7 separate regions of the Homo sapiens genome follow, and all the other regions are linked to region 2. Evidence: promoter capture Hi-C in 16 types of primary human blood cells and fetal thymus (Javierre and others, 2016). All regions are on one chromosome and are shown on one strand. The core of a region is centred on a gene start or on the middle of the fragment in contact, and the rest is flanking DNA. Distances in the headings are between cores, read along the strand shown.

Region 1 (2,700 bases), core at 185-2,684, 1.5 Mb after region 2:
GGACAGCTCCCGGAGCGGCCCCTTTGGGCGCCAGGGGCGTCGCCTTCTCGGCCCCACCTCCGCCTCCTCGGATGCTGGCGGGCGGCCCCGTGCGGCTCCCGGTCTTGTTACCCTGCTGTTGCTGCTGCTGCAGCTGCTGCTGCCGAACAGAATTGAGTTTAGTGCCGGCCCCCACTGGGGACCGGGTGGCCGCGATTGTCTGTCGCAGCGAACTGTCCCTCGGTCTAGCGGGTGACTGAGCTCGCTGCTGCTTTCTGCTGCTGCCCTCCGGGTGCAGACGAGCCTCAGTGGCTGCAGCGGCGGGAGAAGCTGCTGCTGTGGCAGGGGCAGCGCCCCCGATTGGTGGCTGACTCATGGCTATGAACCTACCAGATGCGATTTGGAAGAGCCCATTACTAGATCATCCTCTTCCCTCTTCACCGCCGCCAACCTTCCTTCCTAAGCTGGGACAGAAACAAAAGGAGAGAAGAAGACAACATGTCTGAATTTTTGCAGAGCAAAGGGTGATATTGCTCCATTTGGATGGCGCTTAATAGAAGCTTTGACTTTAGGAATAGGATGCAGGGCTGTCTTTAGGAATAGGATGGAGGGCTGTCAATTCTCATTTTGCCCAGGGTGGCGCTGTCTCCATCTCACTCCACCTCAGCAAAATGACGGATCTGAAAGCAGCTGAACCTTACATTCTCATGGTAGCAGGCTTTGGAAAGGGTGAGATACAGAGTCAGACAGGAATTGATGGAAAGGGAGATATAAAAGAAAAGAGGATAAAGTGGAAAAGAAGCTTCAGAAAGAAAAGATATCCATATATTAGAGTTGTCAACTCTGCTTTTACAACTTTGGCTTTCCTTACCATCAAATCCATATGTAAAGCCTAGTTTACTGGAGAAAGTTTTCATTTAATTAGTATTCCCAAGTTCAATTAGAGGAAAAGGGTTATGATGTAGGGTTCCTAGAGAATATTTTCTACGGATAAATGACACTTTCCCCAGGCAGCTCCAACCCTTAATGTTGTTTTTGGGAAAATGCACCCAACTTCCTTTATAATAGAACTAAAAGAAAATATAAATAATGAATGCCTTTAAATCAATCTCAGTTTCAAGAAAATAATAGCATTAAGAATTGTCTATATGGGTTAGTTATTAGCAACCCAAAAACGTATTTTTTCCCTTTTGGGAAATAATTTTTAAAATACATTTGGAAAAGTTGTGGTCAGTTCTGCAGTTTCCTAAGTTTCTGGTGATGAATTTTCCTATGCTTACCCAGTTTTGTAGTCTTATGAATCACTTTAGTTTTAAGTGTAATTGCTAGATAGAAAATATTTTCATTCTTAGCCATCTTCTTACATCGCATATCATAGGCAAAAGTTGTACTTTTTAAAGTGCCCATTTCCTCCTATATAGCAATTCTGAGACAGAACCCAGAAGGCTGGTGCATCTTCCCTCATGGTGGTAAGATCAATTTCCAGTATGTGTATTTCCAAGATAAATCCGTCACTAGCTTCTTTAATCTGAAAAATAGCAAGTTACTGCCTCATGGGTTCCTCTCCCTAGGGATCCAGGCAGCTAGTCAATTAGTTGCCTTTTCCTTAAAATTATTTCTGTCTAAAGCACTGAAAGGGGCATGACTAGGCATAAATTTCTCCTTTAAAAATATTTGTTCTATACAGAGAGCAGATTACTTTACTGCCAGTTATTTTACTTGCATTATTCTTGTTAACATCTATTGTTAGCATCACAACTTAGCATGCAGTAATTCCTCATTTTATAAAGAAATATTACCGAAGGGTTCCTAATCCACCTCCCTTTCTGTTTCTGGCATCTCCTTCCAACTCACTTTGAAATATAAAGGTGAACAAAGAAGACATCGGGGGAAAATTGCCCACCAACTTGTTTTCTACATCTTCTCTCCCAGTCGCGATACTACTAGAATGTCTGGCCTAGTTTATCATCATGGGTGGCACTAACATGGGCTATCTAACTAACTTATATTGCCAATGCAAACTTATTTTTGTTTTTAATCAGGCAGAATAATTCCAGAGCTGAGAAGCCAATGTTTAAACTCAGCCCTCAGACAGCATTAACCCAGGCGAAAGCTTGTGTTCCAGTAACTGGGCTCCACAATCAAAGGTATCCGGCTGCTGTCACGTGGTTCCCACAAAGTGACAAGATGCTGCATCTCTTCAAGGCTTTCCCGGTGAAAATTATCACCCAACCAACCCCTGCACGGCTTAGACCAACACTTTTAATCTCAAGTTTTATCCGCCTGCTAACCCACCCCATCATTCATCCCCAACCCTTTAGAAATCCAGAACTTGCTCACTTCTCAGCAGAGGCGAGGTTTCCAAGTAGCTGAACAAATCAACAGCACTTTCCTTCTGATATTCCGGGGATCTCAGGGTTTATTATTGTGCCTTTCTGCGCCGAGGAAAGTTCAACTTCATATTATTGTATGCGACTTTCCGGCTGAGCATGACTTTGGGCTCGCTCGCCGCAGTTCCACACCCACTCGATTTCTCCAAACAATGGCGGTAACGTCAAGATTCAGCTGCCCCCAGAGCGGGTGACTTCCCGGCGGTCCGCGGCTGGGCTGGAGCTGCAGCTCTCAGCAGGCTAACACGCGAGGTACCAAGCTGGGCCAGACGCTCCCCAGGAAGTGCAGAGATGTTCATGAGCTGACCTCACCGAACTGGGCAGGAGAGAA
Region 2 (2,760 bases), core at 91-2,590:
ATATTCCTAACAAAAACAGATCTCTTGCTAACAAAAATTCTCATGTGATTTTCTTAAGAAAAATGTCAAGTGCCACTTATTGGCCCCATTCAATATGCCAGATGTTATATTCAACACTTTATGAACATTATTCCACTTAATCCTTGTAACAATCCTTTGCAGGAGGCAGTGTGTTTTTCCATTTTTAAAAGAAAACTCAAGCTCGGAGAGGTTAAGAGCATATACATGGTAAATGGTGGAAGTGAGGTTTGAATCTAATATTGACACCACAGCCTATGTTCTTAATCACTACCACTGCGCATCAACTACGTTTCTGGCACATGCCGCTGGGGATATGCCAGATACATACTCTTTTGCACCTTGTACAATACCACAGAGAAATGCAAAATAAATAATTTTTAATAGGGCAAAGGGCTCGGTACTCTCAAAAGCAGAAATAGCCCAGAGGGAGGGCTTGAGCCCGTAATTCTAGCACTTTGGGAGACTAGGGTAGGAGTATCCCCTGAGACCAGGAGTTCAAGGTTACAGTGAGCTATGATTGCGCCACTGCACTCACCTGGGTGACAGAGCAAGATTGTCTTAAAAAAAAAAAGTCACATATATACATAGAATATGCAATTAAAATATATTTCATAAACTATCTGCTATGAAATCTGTGCCAGTGTGAGCTTTCTCCAAGTTTTAATTTATGGCTGGCTGTGGATTTAGTCCTGAGTCTAACAAATAACACAACCTAATAATTATTGCCTACTTTGAGGAAGATATTCTTTTGGTTTTTGTTAAGAATAGAGTGAACCATAAAAGATTATATCAGACCTCAAGAGTTTATTATAATTGGGTTATAAGGCATGTGCTCTCGAAAAGTTGTTACATAAATACGAAAAATATACTGTTAAATGACTGGCCCAACTAAATCAGTTCCCAAAGCTGTGCTGGTTAGACAAACCTACAAGGAAATGGTGAAATTTCCAAGGAAATGGTGAAATTTCAGTCCAATTTTGAAGAACAGGTTTTGAAGGGCTGTAGAGAAAGCTGGAAGCACACTCCAAGTGGAACGATAACTTGGAAATATACTGTCTTATTATCACAGGCTGCTCCTGAAAGCCACGCGTCCCCGCTCACCAGCTACCAGCGCTGGGAGACCCCTAACCACCAGGCATTCACAGGTGAGGAAGCCCCTCCCACAGCGGCCGGAGTTTCGGACTCGGAGCGCGAGAAACGTCGGGATAGCGCCTGCCTCGCAGAGCTTCCGCTTCCGGCCCTTCAGGCTCTGTCTCTGTGGAGACTGGGCTTTGGGAGGGAGAAAGAGGGACCTAGCGCGGGCCGCGCAGGCGCACGGTGGGCAGCTGCAATGGCGCTGTCGTGTACCCTTAACAGGTATCTGCTCCTCATGGCGCAGGAGCATCTGGAGTTCCGCCTGCCGGTGAGTCCGTAGCGCCCTCCGGAACTTCCGACGGAAGAGGACGCTGGAGTGGAGTGGAGTGGGTGGAGGTGATCTGCATAGCCCGAGGAAGCTGGGATTCGGGGGTCTTCGCTGGTCTGCGCGGGTCACGCGTCCCCAGTCCTCGGGCGGGGTGAGCTTGGCGGAGGGTGTGTGTGAGAGAAGTCCGAGACCAAACCCCTCGGCCTGCTTAAACTTTTCATTCTTTTGCCCGTGTATCAAGTACCGGAGTTAGGCAGGTGAATATGACCGGTCATCTCACTCCCGGAGCTCTTCGTCTAGCGGAGAATAGAGACAGCTAACAAATGCTCAGGCTGGTGTTTGAAGTATTGGAATCTGCGGATCAAGCTCAGTGGAGGGGATGGTGGTGGGGATTAGATGATGGAGAAGTTGAGAAGAGTGTTTTATTTATTCAAGAAACGTTTTCAGAATGCATGTAGTCGAAGATCGGTACGCTGGGCATGTAACGATGATGTAAGCAATCTCTGCCCTCTAGGAGCTTACTGTTTAGAGTAAGGGCTGAGCAGACACATAGGCGTAGAATGACAAAAGAGCGTCGGTAAGTGCAGTGATAGATGCACATGGAAATATGAGAGCACGTGGAAGGGAAATCTAATCTACCTGAGGGGTTGGGGATGTTGGCCTTTAAGAGGGCTTCCAGAGGAGATGACACTTGAAATAAAGGATGAATAGGAGTTAGAGGGCCAAGGAGATAAATCAGTAAATTAGAATTACAAGGTGTTCATTATTACTGGATCACTAGTTATGTGGCAGAGTGGTAAGAAGAGAGCAAGGGAAGTAGATCGAGGCCAGAAAATGAAAACCTTGAGTACCCTGGAGCTTGGAAGGGGGATTTATTGAAAAGCCTTAAGTAAAAAAGTGACCACAAAATTAAATCAGTTTGACAACACTATGGAGGATGGATTTGAAAAGAATAAGACTTGAGCCAGAGACTAGGAGTCTGTGGGAATAGTCTTGTTAATAGATTAAGAAGGTCTGACCTAGGGCAAGGAGTAAGAGGATGGGATAGACTGGGAAAATATTTAGGCCATACAGTCATTAAGGCTGGATTGATTGAATATGTGGGAAAGGGGCACCAGTCAGGTATGACTCCTGGGGTGTATATAGGTAGGAGTGTCTCCATTTAAAATAGAGAACATAGGCAGATGTAAGATTTAAATTTTGTTTACACTGAATTTGATGTGGTTGTGTAACATCAACCTGAGATGACCAAGAGGCGGTGGATATATGAATATGCATAGAGTATGGCAGAGTGATCTGGACTAGTGATAAATATTTGGGAGTCTTCTTCATATGAA
Region 3 (2,965 bases), core at 6-2,505, 1.2 Mb after region 2:
GAGGCCATCCGCTCCTGTCCATACAACCCAGTAGACAATTTGGGTAAGGGAATGAGTATAGCAGTGCCAAATGTGGCTATCAACACTTCTTCTGTTTCTGTCTCAAAAGAACAAAATTCTAAGACAAGCTCTTAGAACAAATGGAAATTTATCCAAATAAAAATCAAATGATAAATGCCCAGAGAATATTCTTTCTTTGGAATTCGTTCAATTCTTTAATTTAACCAGCTGGAATAAATTTTCAAGTAGCATTCTGCTCAGCCTTTTGAAATGAAGGACTTTTCTGTTAATTGGAAAGTTATATTCCATCAAAGATGAAGACAGTGATCTTGCCTTAGTGATTCTTAGAAAAAATAAAAGGCATTTGGTGAATATTTATCATATACTGATTCCAGAACATGTATTTTAAGCACAAATGAATGAGCTGTGGGCCTACACATTTAACTAAAGAAAAATAGGGAAAATTCAAATACAAGTTTTATTTTAAACTCTACATAAAAGCTAACTTTCACTATGCTCAGTCATGAGAGGAATATGTAAAGAGAAAATAGAAATAGAAACCATTAATTTTGAGAATGAAAGATGGATAATACAGCTGTGGTTCCTGATTTTCTGAAGCAAATGAATTAGATAAGTCAACACATTTAAGTGTTCTTTACTGTGTTACTGGAATATGTGTTATTGGGGCTGGGGAAACATGAGAGTCAACTCAAAAAGATCTACAGCAAGAAAATAAAAATTTACTGGGAAAAAATTATTTTGAAAATTCATATTTTTAAAGCAATCTGTACCATAGGCAGTACTTTAAACTTAGTCATTGATTATAGATATATTAAATAACATTGTTACATTTAAATTTTAAATTGGCACGTTAGGCAAACTAATTTATCGCAAATAATGTGAAAAGTTGTTTAAAAATTAATGATAGTCAAGTACTAAAGAAATAATTTTTCCAGATGTCTTAAAGGAATCACTGGATAGATGGTCTGAATTATAATTGTGTATTCTGATTTAAAATAATTTTATAGGAAGACTTCTAGGTAATACTATTTATGTACTTTCAGTCTGGCAATGTGTGTATAACAGAAATTTTTCAAAGAGGCTGTTCCACTTTTTTAAATATTTAAATTGCTGAGAGAACTTTTTAAAGGGTAATATGAAATAAATATTTAATAAGTTCCATAGACTCACGCATATTCTCCAGCTTGAGATGGAAGATGGTGGTTGAAGCAGCAGGGGGCGCCAGCGGGCATGGTGGTGAGATGGGGACAGGGTAGAGTACGAGTGTTACAAAAAAAAGATGAACACATCAATTCGTTTTTGAGATAGTCACTAATATTTTGAGAGGACTAGGTCCAAATTGAAAATTTGGGATAGAACACGACAATGTTGTTAGGCAGGCTTTAATGGTCTTTGAAATATTAGTGTTAGGACGCCCCACTGACTAAATTTCTGAAGATAGGTAATAAAATTCCCATATTATAAGCTCATAAACATTATATAAAACAACCAAAGTATCCTATTCAGGGTCATTTTTTTAAGGGAACAATAATATTCATCCAACAAGCTAGTCATGAATTTCACGGCAAAAGTAATGAATAATATTTGACGGTGCTTAATAGATGAAATTTGCCAACATACCCTTTGATAACAAGTAAGAATGAGAATAAATTTATATGCTTATTTAATAGATACAATTATTTAAAACCCAAGATCTAATTCAAAATGTGTTATGCAAACATGCTTAGATCAAGAAATTGTCTACATGTAAGTCAATGTATCTGATTTACTTTCCAAGAGTTTTATGATCTATCCTAAGGTGATAGATAGGATTTCAAAGTCAAGATAACAACTTCTGCTCTGAAGAAAAAATTACTTATTGTAAATGAACTTTTAACCAAAAAGCAGTTGATACAAGAGAAATAAACCCATACAAAAGAATGCAAAATCTAAAATATTTAATATAAATTATAATACCCTGCTAGCTTTTAAAATATTATACAATAAAATACAGAATATCCTTTACTTTTATAATGAGTAAAATTCGTAAACATTGCCAATATTTTTAAAAATCTTTGGGTACTTTCTCCCCTGATCACTTTTAACTGTTCTTTTAACATAGAACAGGAAGGCATCCTAGTATGCAATACCCAGTGCCTTTAATAGTTTCTTTTGGACTCCAGCTAATGGCCCTTTTAAATGGAAGCAAGGATTCCAGGCTGGGGTTCCAGGCAGCAGAAGCAATGAGGTGGAATGGAGTTAGCTTGAATGAAAGGGTTATGGAAACCTCTGTCACGACATTGAGCCAACATTCAAAATTTCAGATTCTGAGTCTTTAGTGGATAATAAAATTATTTAAACAACAGAGAAAAAAATTTGTAAAGGCCTATTGGCAATGGTCCATTTGTAAGGAAGGTATTTAATTAGGCAAAAGAGAGTTTATTATGCTTAAAGCAGACTATGAAAATACACATTCTAAAAAGTTGTGATTACTGATATTTATGATGTCTGCTATAAGGTGAAATGATTTATAATAGGACTGCATTCAAACCTCAAGTAGCATTTTAAAATTTTAAAGCTATATAATTTTTCTTTCTCTTTTTTAGTATTAAGTATAACAAAATATGAAAATATGTGATAATTTCATTAAAGCTTCAAAAATGTAACAGTAGTAGTCTAATGGAAAATTATTTCTAAATTAGATATAAATGATGTATAATTTTCAAGTTACATATATATATATATATATCATACCTCTATATGTTGGGGGAGTGGAAATACTAAAATATAGGCTTGTAGCAAAAATAAAAAGAAAGAGAATAGAGAATGAGATAGTGCTGAATGGTGCTGACTCAAAAAGTTTATTCCAAATGCTATTAAGTTCTGAGTTAATTTCTGATAAGCAGCTTTTCCTTGCCCAGCAAATTCAAATTTCAAGAGATTAAGAAAGTACACTCCAAATCTT
Region 4 (3,014 bases), core at 219-2,718, 1.3 Mb after region 2:
AATTTTTTATTCCCTTTTTATTTAAGGTATTTTTGACATGAAAAAGCTTCCAATTTTGTGACATCAATAACATATCCTTTTCCTCTGTAATTTCTTCCATTTCTTCTATGTTCAGAAAGTACTTCTATTCAAAAGGCCAATGCTGTGGTCTCTATAATTTATTTTTTTAAACTTTGGCATAGACAATGTGCTATTATTTACGGGACAATTGATTTAAGCTATGCTTTATATGGGATCATTTGCCCTAATCAGGAATGCTCATACAAAAGGCGATTATTTAGCATTTAATCAGAAAGGCTACATTTCAAAGACTATAAGTACTGCATCTAATTTATCTTTGATGAAATCGGTACTTATTGATGAAATTAATGGTATGGGAGATACATACATTGAATAAAAGATTTCAGAGACAATTCCACAAGAATTCAGGGAGTCATATCCTACTCACTTAAAGATGGCACCAAGGCGTGATCCCTACTGAGATTTTTTTGCATGCTTTCCAATGGATGTATGGGTGGCAGAATTTGATCTGCATTTGCTTTCTTCATAACCTGATAGGTTGTGGGGAAGTAGTTAAACTTCATCCACCTCTAAACATTGGAGGCTACTACTAAATTTTAAAAATAACCTAAGAGTTATGCAAGATTGAATTGGCTTACACCAGTTTGTGAGAATCAGTTAAATAGCCACCTGTATCTTCTTCTCACTTATTTCTGAGTTTTATCTTTTATAGCCAACTCTTGACCCACCTGAAGTTTTGAATCTCAAATGGCTACAGGAGCGGAGCCATTCACATAAATGTGTGAGGCAAACTGGCATAAAACAGGAGGTGGGAAGAATTGTGCCAAATTGCAGAGCACCAGGGGAGCTGACACTCCTCTGTTCTTGCCAAATGCTGCCATCTGGGAATGTGAGTCCAGTGTTGCTATATCTTCTGTTTTAATTTTTCTTCCCATATTAAAAAAGAAAAAACAAAAAAAAAATTATAGTTTGTTGTAAATTTTTTTGAGTTTTATAATACCATGCAACAAACCATGTACATTTGTGGCCCAGTTATAATACAAGGGTGGTCACCAGTTTGCAATCTTTGGTTTATAGTGTAAGAGGTGAATGTTTTATACATATATATGTATGTGTGTATATATATATATATATACACACACACACATATATTTATCTCCAAGTAGGCAATTTTTCCCCGAAATTGTTGGAAACAGTCTTTCTCATTAAGATCTTATCCTTCCACCACCAAACACTGTATACTTGTATACTAGCAGCTGTCCTACTAACGAGTATATTCTTCCACCACTTCCATACTATTTTCATAATAATAAATTCCACAATTTTAACTATTATTATTTTTGGAAGCATTTTAAAAACTATGAAAAAATCCTCATCCATTTAAAAACCAGCAGCCCTCCACTGGTATCGTTTTTCAAATTTTTCTTTCCTGTACACTTAAGTAAATTTAAGAATAACTTTGTGCATCTTCAACAACATCCTTTGATATTTTAATTGAAATTTTATCTCCTAAATGGTTATTGCCAATATATAAATATTCTTTTTATTTATTTTGTATCTGAACATTTGACTTATATTCTGGTTTTAAGAATTTTAAAATGTATTCTTTTAGGTTTTCTAAGCATATCATTAGCTGGTCAATTGATAGCCCATTTTCTGGGCTATCGAACATTTTACATAACATGAAGAGTTTTGAGTTATAGAGAGCTTGAAAGTGTTTGACAGCAAACTGTCGTGCCTGGAACTATTTTTTTGAGGTAATACCATGATTATTGGATATATTTTTTGTGATTCTACTCATGTTTATTTCCTAAAAATCTATTTACTTAAGACCTTTATTGATACCAACTATGTGTCATTGTTCTATGTGCATTGGGTAATAAAGACACACAGAGGGGCCTTTCTGTGTGTAATTATATATGAAAGGAATATATATTCTCAGAAGAGAAGACAGATAATAAACCAACACATAAAATTTTAAAATATCAGCTAATGATAAATGCCCAGGTGAAATTAAAAGAGTGTGATATTGTGCTGAGTGACAGGCTGAGGGATGTTGAGAAACTATGGGTAGTCAAAATAAAAACCTCTCTGAGAAAGTGACTTTTAAGATGAGACATCATTGACAAGAAGGAACCATCAAAAATCCAAGGAAAGAGATTCCATGTAGATAGAAAGCACAGTTAGTCCAGAGTGTAGGAAAAATTTATTTGTATACAAAGATTGGCATGCTCCAAGTTACCTATGTGACTGGAATTTTCAAACTTATTAGTACAATGTAATTCAATACTATTAACTTCCTCCATGTCTTTATTTTTTCTTTTTCATCCTTAATAATGTTTGTCTTTGACATCATTCTTAATAAAATGTGCCTATGATATAGCTGCTACATTATGCATTTATTTTTAAATTAAAATAAAACTTTTGGATTATCAATTCCACTTTGACTTTTATATTTAGACTTTTTCCTCTATTTTTGTTTCCTATTTAAAATTCTTCTTTTTAGTAATAAACATTTTTTTACTACCAATATTCCGTGAGGTAAGTTTAGTCCACACTAAAAAAAGAAAAATGCTAATGCCTTGTGTTCTTTCTATTCTTGTTTCAAAATTGTCTCAGATTATATTATTATTTTTATCATTGGCTAAGATAGGAGATTTTACTTTGAACTTTTAAATGATAAGATATTTTATTCCCATCTAATAAATTAATATCCAGTGAATTCTATCATGGTCAGAAAATATGAATTTTTGATTTGAGAAATGTATTGAAGTATTCCTTTCAGTCTAAGTACATGAGTTTATTTTTTTCTGTCTCTTTTTGGTATTACATGGGCATCTAAGTAAGTTATATTCTTCTCTTGTGGATATAAAGCTTTAAAACTTATCGTATATCTATTGATTTAGCCTTATATTATCACGCAATTTCTTCTTGTCATCTTTTTTTTCAACTACTTACTCTAACAAAGGTTGAGAGATGCATCAGTTACCCAA
Region 5 (2,700 bases), core at 189-2,688, 1.3 Mb after region 2:
ATTTGGAAAAAAGATGAAATAAGATCCATTACTCACAGCATACATGAAAATAAGCTCAAAATGGATTAGATATATAAATGTAAAACACAAAACCATTCAAGTACTAGAAGAAACACGCATGAACTTTTCTATAACCTTGATATATGGAAAGGCTTTTAAACTACCACTTGAAATCCAGATGCAACTTTTAAAAAGATTGATAGATATGACTACTTTTGTGTGTGTGTGTCTGTTTTTTTTTAGACAGGGTCTTATTACTCCATTGCCCAGGCTGGAGTGCAGTGGCACGATCTTGGCTCATTGCAACCTCCGCCTCCCAGGTTCAAGTGACTCTCCTGCCTCAGCCTCCAGAGTAGCTGCAACTACACGTGCGCCATCACACCCGGCTAAATTTTTATACATTTTTAGTAGAGACAGGGTTTCACCATACTGGCCAGGCTGGTCTCAAACTCCTGATCTTGTGATCCGCCTGCCTCGGCCTCCCACAGTGGACCATGTTTTTTTAAAAAGGCTTGTGTGGCAAAAAAGAATAAAAACAAAAAACAAGCAAAGTCAAAAAACAAGCTGAGCAAATATATGCAAAACACTTCACAGATAATGACATTATCCCTAATACTTGAAGAACTTTAAAAAATTGAAGGAAAAAAACAAATATCCTGTTGAGAAATAAGCAAAATATGAATAAATAATTCACCAAAAAAAATTTTTTAATGGTCCTTAAGACATATGAAACTATAATCAACTTCACTTTAATATAAATGGGCTGTGCGCAGTGGCTCATGCCTGCAATCCCAGCACTTTGGGAGGCTGTGGATCACTTGAGCTCACAAGTTTGAGACCAGCCTGGGCAACATGACAAAACCCCGTCTCTACAAAAAATACACAAATTAGCCAAGTGTGGTGGTGCACTCCTGTAGTCCCAGTTACTCCGGAGGCTGAGGTGGGAGGATGACTTGAGTCCTAGAGGCGGAAGTTGCAGTGAGCAGTGATCGTACCACTATACACCCCAGCCTGGGTGAGACAGAGCAAGACCTTGCCTCAAAAAGAAAAAAAAAGAGAAAAAAAAGAAATGCATATTAAAACTATGCTGAAATATTGTTCCTTACCCATGAAATTGGCAAATTCCAAAGCTTAATAGTAGGCTCTGTTGACAAGGCTAAGTGAAACAGACTAGAGGGAATGCAAGACTTGTCTATCTCTTATGGAAGAAAATTAGGCAATAATTAATAAATATTCATTAACTCATTAATATTTATTTAACTTTTGATTTAGCAATCCTATTTCTAGTGTTTATCCTTAAGATATGCCATTAGTATTACTAAAAAGTATAGATAAAGTTATTCACTACAACATTCTAACATATTCAAGACATAAAATAAGGCTGGAAACAAGGGAAAAAATTTAAACTGAATGCAAAAACTAAATCAAGGTATTTTCAAATGAAATCACATTGAGGGATAAGAAAAGGAAAAATCAGGCAGACAGCTAAGGCTAGTCCTTGGAGAAATAGCCTGAAAAATCACAGCTACAGGCACAAACAGAACAACCTGGGGAAAAACTAAACTGCAACTACACTAATAAGAAAGCAAGGCCCAACAGAGAAGCCTTTTTTCCTTTGTGTGATTAGCGGGCTTCCAGGAAAAAGGTTCCTCCCCTTTTCAGGCATATACATGGTAGGCTCTGTGGGAACCTGCAAAGGAATGGGGGTGGGCTTACCTGAAACAGACCTGCAGTTAAACAAACAAGAGAAGCTTCACTTTGTGCTTACCCAAGACATACCCACAGCTGCAGAGATAAGGAGAGTTACACAAATAGCTACAGAGATGAGGGGAGTTTCTTATAAAAGCTTTTGGATTCAACTGTAAAAACAGCAACCCACTCAGGCCCCCTCTCCACTACAAAGAGCTTTCTTCTTTCACTTATTAAACTTTGACTCCAACCTCCCCCTTGCGTCCATGCTCCTTAGTTTTCTTGATTGTGAGACAAGGAGCTCGGATAACACCTCAGACAACGAGACCATTCACCCCAGACCATTTCAACATCAAAGAAGGAGAAACAACAAAAACAACAGTGAACTAATGTAAGTAACTTTTGGACACAGTACAATACTTTATTTACCCTTAGTCTGGGTGAAAAAAATATATGATACACAAAGATAAAACACAATAGCAAAATGTTAAAAATTGTTGGACCTGAATGAATGGCACAGGGAAATTATTTGTATTACTGTCACGCCTTTCCTGCAAGTTTGTAATTATTTCAAAATTAAAAATTAAAAAATACAATTCCAGTTTCTCTCTCACACCAAATTCAATAGTAAAATATTAAATATTAGACATATAAAAATGTGTACATGCTTTTTTTTGCCAAAAGTTGATGCTAAAAGCCAAGCAGTCTGAGTTTGTCATTTTCTATTTTCTAAGGTAGTTTTGAGAGATTTTTCTCTATTTTCCCATGTTTTTAGAATAACTGGAATTAGAAAGTAGAATCAAGGAATGAGTGTTTTAAGTACTTCCTGAAGCACATTCTGGAATCTTGATCTTGAAACCAAGCTAACCATCCATACTACAGGTATAATTATGTTTAAAATAATGTCTATATCAGAGAATCCTTTATAAATAAGGTATACAGTCATGCACTGAATAACAACATTTTAGTCAGCAATGGACTGTATGACAATGATCCCATAAGATTATAATG
Region 6 (2,799 bases), core at 162-2,661, 1.3 Mb after region 2:
AACAGGAAATTATTACAGTATGTACTACAATTAATTTTATACAGCTATGATTCATACTGCATCTTTACATTTGTTTAAATTTCTTGTACCACCTCAAGTGGCACCATATGTGTCTGTGTTTACTAAGTTTTGATACACTTTAACTTCTTATAATTTCTCTATATTTTATAATACTAAATGATAAAATAGACTATATATGTTTTATGCATTCATAATATACCTAATTTTTTCTTTTCCTTTTTTTGATGTTTCAAGACTACATGATTCATCTGCAAGTTTTTTCAAATTGTCACAAATCTCCAAAAAAATTTCCAACATATTTATTGAAAAAACTGTATGTATATAAGTCAACTTGTTCATTTCCAACCTGTGTTGTTGAAAGGTCAGCTGTATGAGGTTATCGTCAAAGATCTTTAAAGAAAGAAATGACATCATCAATATTTTGAAAATTAGAGAAAGCCATTTCTAAAGGAATCCTAGAAATGACTTCAGGCCAGAATTAGAAAAAAAAAAATTGAAGAAATAGGCTAAATAAATATGTCTTTGGCTGTGTTCTTTTGAAAATGGCATTAATGTATAGAAAGATACTCGAATGTGAGTTATGGTCACTGATACATTCTTTTGTTTACTGCTGAACATAACTGGACTAGAGGAGTGTAATGAGGGCAAGGATGTTCTTTCTGTTGAAGGAGAAAGTTTATATTGATGGAAAGTCATTATTCATAGATACTTTGCTGTTATTTCAGTACTATTAAGTAAATAGTTCTCTGCTCCTGGGTTTGTGTGTGTGTGTGTTTTCTTTATAAGGGGCTTTTTCAAATAATTTTGCTATTGATAAGTTACTTGAATTTAATCATTAGTCTTCAAATAAGGAAAGCAGAATGAGAGAATGCATCTCCTTGAATTAACCAGATTTTTTTTTAGTACCTTTGTTCTAGTGGATATGTAGCAAAGCTTTTACTTTAATATTTGTGGCTATAGCTTTATTTCAGCTATGTGAAATAGTTTTATAGGAAAGATCACAGCTTATTTGGGTGTTCAAATATGGGTTCTTTAGAGGATTTTTTTGTACTTATTTTGAAGCTGCTTTGTTTCAGTTAACTTAGATTCCTTTAAGAATCAACTTTTGTTTCAGAGATAAAATATTTATGGATAAGACCTAAGTAAAGTAAGTGAATAGAGAGGAATAAATTAGATTGGTTACAGATAATGTGTAAATGCATTCAGGAGATAAGGAGAATTAGAAACAAGGACATTTTTTGTGTATTTCTTAGGAATAAAATGGTACCTTCTACACATCTCAATTATTAAAGTACAAATAGTGATTGAACGAAATTTTTAGAAGAAATGTTTTAATTGAATCTTCACACTAGAGGTTTTACCATTCAATCAATTAGGTTCTGAGAAGGATGGATTGGTACATCTTAAAAGACTTGTAAGATAGCGAAGGATAGGCAGTGCTAATGACCAACAGCAACACTCAGCAGGACTTTGTGGACCAAAAAACTTCAAGTTAGAATTGTGGGTAAAGGCTGGGCATGGTGGCCCTCACCTGTAATCCCAACACTTTGGGAGCCTGTGGTAGGAGCATCACATGAGGCCAGGAGTTTGAGGTTTAAGTTACCTGCAGTCATACCACTGGACTCCTGCCTGGTTAACAGACGCTGTCTCTTAAAACAAAACAAAACAAAAGAATTGTGGGTAAAGTAAGAGCAAATTGACTTTTGAGTGATGGTCCGAAAACCTTTGTGATGGGTAAAGGGTAGAATGTCTGTATAATTTTTCTGAACTGGAACACTTGTTGGGAGACCAAGGGCAAACTGGATAGATGCTGGGCTGACCTATGTGGTCATCCTAGTGAAGAATCATAAGCTTTATTGGGGAAAGAGCTTTGTGAAGCTGTTTTGGCTGTTCAGAAACCCATCTTGGTTTATGCTTAGATTTTTATCTCCATTTTGGAGAATTCATTGACAATGAACAATAGCTGGGTAAATGATTTGCTTGCCAAAAGATACAAAGATGGGTTGAATTTTATATTTGTAAATGTAGGAACTCCTTTAGATTTTAAGTTATATAAAGCAAGGATTAGAACTTAGATATTTTTATGTATCTTACAGATTCCAGCTTGAGTTCACAATTAGAACTCAAGTGTTGTGTTATTTGAATAAATCTAATCCTTTGATATTCTGTTCCTCACAATAGTTACTTTTAGGAGTTGATTTTTCATTCATCCAAAAAATATCAGTTCAACAAAAATTGATTGACAATTTACTAGCTATTTAAAGATATAAAAATCTCCCTATCTTCAGGGGATTCATGATTTCACAGAAGAGTCAGACTTCACAAATGAATTGAAATTAGTGCATGTGATAAATTCCGTAATAGAAAAACATACAAAACATAGAGGAGAGAACAGTTAACTTTCTGGAGGTAGTCAGAGAAAATGGTAGAGATAACCATTTCTGTGTAATATATTAAAGAACAAATAGGCATTCATAAGCTGTAAAAGGGAATAGATCGTACCAGGCAGGAGGAAATACAGAGCTACAAAGGGAGGTTTGCAGGACTATGAGTAATTTTATACAACTAGATTATTAATCTATGGGTGGTTGTTGAAGATAAAAAAGACTAGAGACTAATTATTTACAGTTTAGATCTTTAAAACCTTTTAATGTTGTCCTAAGGAGCTTTGTCTTTATTGTGTAGGCTGAGGACCCAATATTGTGCTTCACATATGGAAGAAACCTGGTCCATTTTGCCTTTTAAATATATCAGTCAGTCCTAGCTACTTGGGAGGCT
Region 7 (2,700 bases), core at 116-2,615, 1.2 Mb after region 2:
GAAACATGAAAATAGTCAGCAGATGCCCTTTCCATCCATTAATAAAGTATCTTTTAAATAAATAATCAATCAACCTATAGATTCTGCCATTAGGAAATTAGCAACAGTGCTTTGCTGTACCAGTAGAGCTATCAGATTAGACAATTTTCATATGTATAGGTGACATAACATTCTCCTAAAATTTTCTATCAGGTTTCTAGATGGAGGTTAAAAGCCTTGTATGATTTTGTAATAATTGATATACCAAGCCTGGCATCCACAATAAATATTGATGTTTTCCATTCTGTAAAAATGATATAAAACATATTAGTGCTTTTATAGTTATGCAACTTTGTATGTTTTGATACCAAAAAAGATCCAGAAAATGTGAAAATACAGATAGTTATCTAAGTATAGCTTCACCGAGATTGGGTGATTTAATTATCAATTTGAAGGAAAACTCTTTTATCTGTAACAATGATCATAACTGAACTACTGAACTGGCCAGCAAAATTAATGTCTTGATCTGCCACTCAAGCAGTATTTAGTCATTATTTTCAAATGACTAAAATTAAATAAAATAAACTATACCTTTGAGAATCATTTTAACTGAAGTAGCCAGTTATAAGGGCTAGCCACAGGCAGTGTTTACAAAATGTCTCTTTAAGAGGTGTAAGATTATTTCAGATCCACAAAGAAAAAGCAGCAGATGGTCCTGCTTTTCCCTTGTATCACTTGAAACATACAAGACTTAAATATTAAGTTAAAAGTGTATTGAGAATACTTCAGAAAACAAATCTATGCCCAAATCACTCCTTAAAGCATGGAAAGAAAAATAATGCTAAAGTGGAGGAAAATAATTAAAAGTGGAATTCCCTATATATTCTAATTTGCAAGATGAAGCTTCACTCTTCCTGCAAAATACTACATTATGGGTATGAAGACGCCACACCAGTCCTAACCAAAACATGTCTCAGCCCTTCTCCAGCCTTCACCAAATATCACATTGCCAGCTTCTCTTTTGTCATGTCCTTGCACTTCCACAAATTGGATTTCCCATCAGAGTGTTAGTACACTCTGATGAACTCAACAAAGCAGAAGTAAGAAAAAACAACTTTAAAAATGTTGTTTTTATATTACAAAGCAATGTTTCAAATAAATGTTATTCAATATTACTGAAATGGCATTGAAATAGTCATAATGAGAAAAGTGAGAACTTGGTTGAACTTTCTTATACTGGTTTTACAATTTAATTCTGTGTTAGTTTGCAATACATTAAAAAAAGGAACGACAGAATCTTTCAAAATCCTTGGTCCAGTCCTACTGCACAAACACAAGCACCTACTGCCTCCCTTCTCTCCCGTTAGTCAATCCTAAGCCTTGCCTGAGAAATATCAGTGATTCTGTCAAATACTACAGACTGCTCTCTATCCTGAGTGCCTTGAGAAGGTCTCCAGCTATTCCAGTGTCACCTTTGACAGGAGGCAAAGGTGGTAAGCAAAGGTGTCAAGGCCCTGTCATCCATTCTGCCTTGTGTTTCTTTCATTTCCTGTACAGGGTAACTGCTCAGAAAAACTCAACTATTTCTCACAGGACAAATCATATAAAACCTTACAGGATTAAAAAAAGAGAGAGAGAAGCGCTTGTAATGAAAAGAAACGAAAGAAATAATAAGAGAACACACAAGAGGAAACCAGTCACACCCATTCTCTCTAGTGCTATGTAGCTTAACCCACACCCAAAGTAAACTGCCTTCACTTCAAGAAGCTGTCTCTCTGTAAATAAACTGACCAATGTATCTTTAAGACATAAACATCTTGGACTGCCATAATAAACATTGCAAAATAAATACAAAATAACATCTGGAGGCAAAGCTTTGCTAGGAGTGGGGTGAGAGGGAGTGCTAGCTTTTCTTAGCACCATTAATAAAGTATTAATTTCATTTTCTTTTAGTTTGGAAAATGCTTTCCATTATTAACCAAAAACAAATCAAAGACTTACTGATTTTACTTTAAAATCCAAAGAATGGAATACTGTCTGTCCATAATGGCTTTTTGCAAGTTGGGCTTATCTTCTTAGTTATATTTTAATTCCCTTGTTTTCTACTGTTTGAAACTAGCACTCAGTCACCAAGCAGTTAATTTAGATATGAAAATGGTTTATATTTAGGTCTAATTATTACTGTCCTGTTACATAAAAATCTTCTTTCTGTCTTGGGAAACCAATTTCTCCAATATAATGTACCAGAAAAACACAATACTTCCATTGTAAGAGTATATTATAATGATTATGACATTCAACCATTGTTTCTCATTGCAATGGCAGAGACCATGTTTCATGCACTTCCTATCAGCATCCGACTTATGTGTAGTTATCCCATTCAATTAACATTTATCATCGGCAAACAGCAACTGGTCCAGCTCTCTACCTGTACAAAATAATTACATCAAATGCTTGAGTTGCTCCTAGTAAATTTTACTATAATATTATTATGTAGATAATTGCCCTAGGAATTACTTCTCTTATTTTGTGTAATGCTCTGGTAAGATTTTTTGTAGGTGACATAGAAAGCATTGTATTCCAATGCCAAGAAAAAAAAAAAACTCATTAGAAATATATGTAACTTACAGCCAGGCGCCATGGCTCACGCCTGTAATCCCAGCACTTTGGGAGGCCGAGGTGGGTGGATCGATCACCCGAGTACAGGAGTTCCAGACCAGC

The links. Contacts are between HindIII fragments. The CHiCAGO score rates a contact against its expected background, and 5 or more counts as called.
Region 1: a fragment that was not itself captured here is called in contact with the fragment with the promoter of TRMT11 in region 2 in 1 of 17 cell types (total B cells); the score reaches 8.6 in total B cells.
Region 3: a contact is called between a fragment that was not itself captured here and the fragment with the promoter of TRMT11 in region 2, in 1 of 17 cell types (M2 macrophages). The highest score is 5.1, in M2 macrophages.
Region 4: a fragment that was not itself captured here is called in contact with the fragment with the promoter of TRMT11 in region 2 in 2 of 17 cell types (naive CD8 T cells and total B cells); the score reaches 6.2 in naive CD8 T cells.
Region 5: a contact is called between a fragment that was not itself captured here and the fragment with the promoter of TRMT11 in region 2, in 5 of 17 cell types (total CD8 T cells, naive B cells, total B cells and 2 more). The highest score is 7.5, in total CD8 T cells.
Region 6: a fragment that was not itself captured here is called in contact with the fragment with the promoter of TRMT11 in region 2 in 5 of 17 cell types (total CD8 T cells, non-activated CD4 T cells, total B cells and 2 more); the score reaches 7.4 in total CD8 T cells.
Region 7: a fragment that was not itself captured here is called in contact with the fragment with the promoter of TRMT11 in region 2 in 1 of 17 cell types (M1 macrophages); the score reaches 5.5 in M1 macrophages.

The regions. Positions count from the first base shown.
Region 1 is chr6:127,516,260-127,518,959 of GRCh38, forward strand. It overlaps MTCL3 (MTCL family member 3), which reads right to left. Exons shown (of 7, transcript NM_001400265.1): 1 at 2,320-2,700; 2 at 1-443. The coding sequence starts at 355. SOGA3-KIAA0408 (SOGA3-KIAA0408 readthrough) reads right to left here. Exons shown (of 13, transcript NR_174482.1): 1 at 2,320-2,700; 2 at 1-443. Among named protein-coding and RNA genes, the nearest start is that of MTCL3, 1.7 kb to the right of the region's middle. The HindIII fragment of the contact is 1,311 bases long and covers 780-2,090 here.
Region 2 is chr6:125,985,200-125,987,959 of GRCh38, forward strand. It overlaps TRMT11 (tRNA methyltransferase 11), which reads left to right and starts at 1,341. Exons shown (of 13, transcript NM_001031712.3): 1 at 1,341-1,423. The coding sequence starts at 1,352. RefSeq lists enhancers at 564-1,394, 1,372-1,861, 1,395-2,224. The HindIII fragment of the contact is 7,229 bases long and covers 1-2,760 here.
Region 3 is chr6:127,185,859-127,188,823 of GRCh38, forward strand. All of the region lies in intron 4 of RSPO3 (R-spondin 3), which reads left to right. The region is part of intron 1 of LOC105377989 (a long non-coding RNA gene); the gene reads right to left. Among named protein-coding and RNA genes, the nearest start is that of RSPO3, 69 kb to the left of the region's middle. The HindIII fragment of the contact is 2,789 bases long and covers 1-2,650 here.
Region 4 is chr6:127,248,970-127,251,983 of GRCh38, forward strand. No RefSeq gene overlaps it. Among named protein-coding and RNA genes, the nearest start is that of RNF146, 16 kb to the right of the region's middle. The HindIII fragment of the contact is 2,849 bases long and covers 45-2,893 here.
Region 5 is chr6:127,295,969-127,298,668 of GRCh38, forward strand. The region is part of intron 5 of ECHDC1 (ethylmalonyl-CoA decarboxylase 1); the gene reads right to left. Among named protein-coding and RNA genes, the nearest start is that of RNF146, 30 kb to the left of the region's middle. The HindIII fragment of the contact is 621 bases long and covers 1,129-1,749 here.
Region 6 is chr6:127,273,260-127,276,058 of GRCh38, forward strand. All of the region lies in intron 1 of RNF146 (ring finger protein 146), which reads left to right. Among named protein-coding and RNA genes, the nearest start is that of RNF146, 7.8 kb to the left of the region's middle. The HindIII fragment of the contact is 918 bases long and covers 953-1,870 here.
Region 7 is chr6:127,203,473-127,206,172 of GRCh38, forward strand. All of the region lies in intron 1 of LOC105377989 (a long non-coding RNA gene), which reads right to left. Among named protein-coding and RNA genes, the nearest start is that of RNF146, 62 kb to the right of the region's middle. The HindIII fragment of the contact is 971 bases long and covers 881-1,851 here.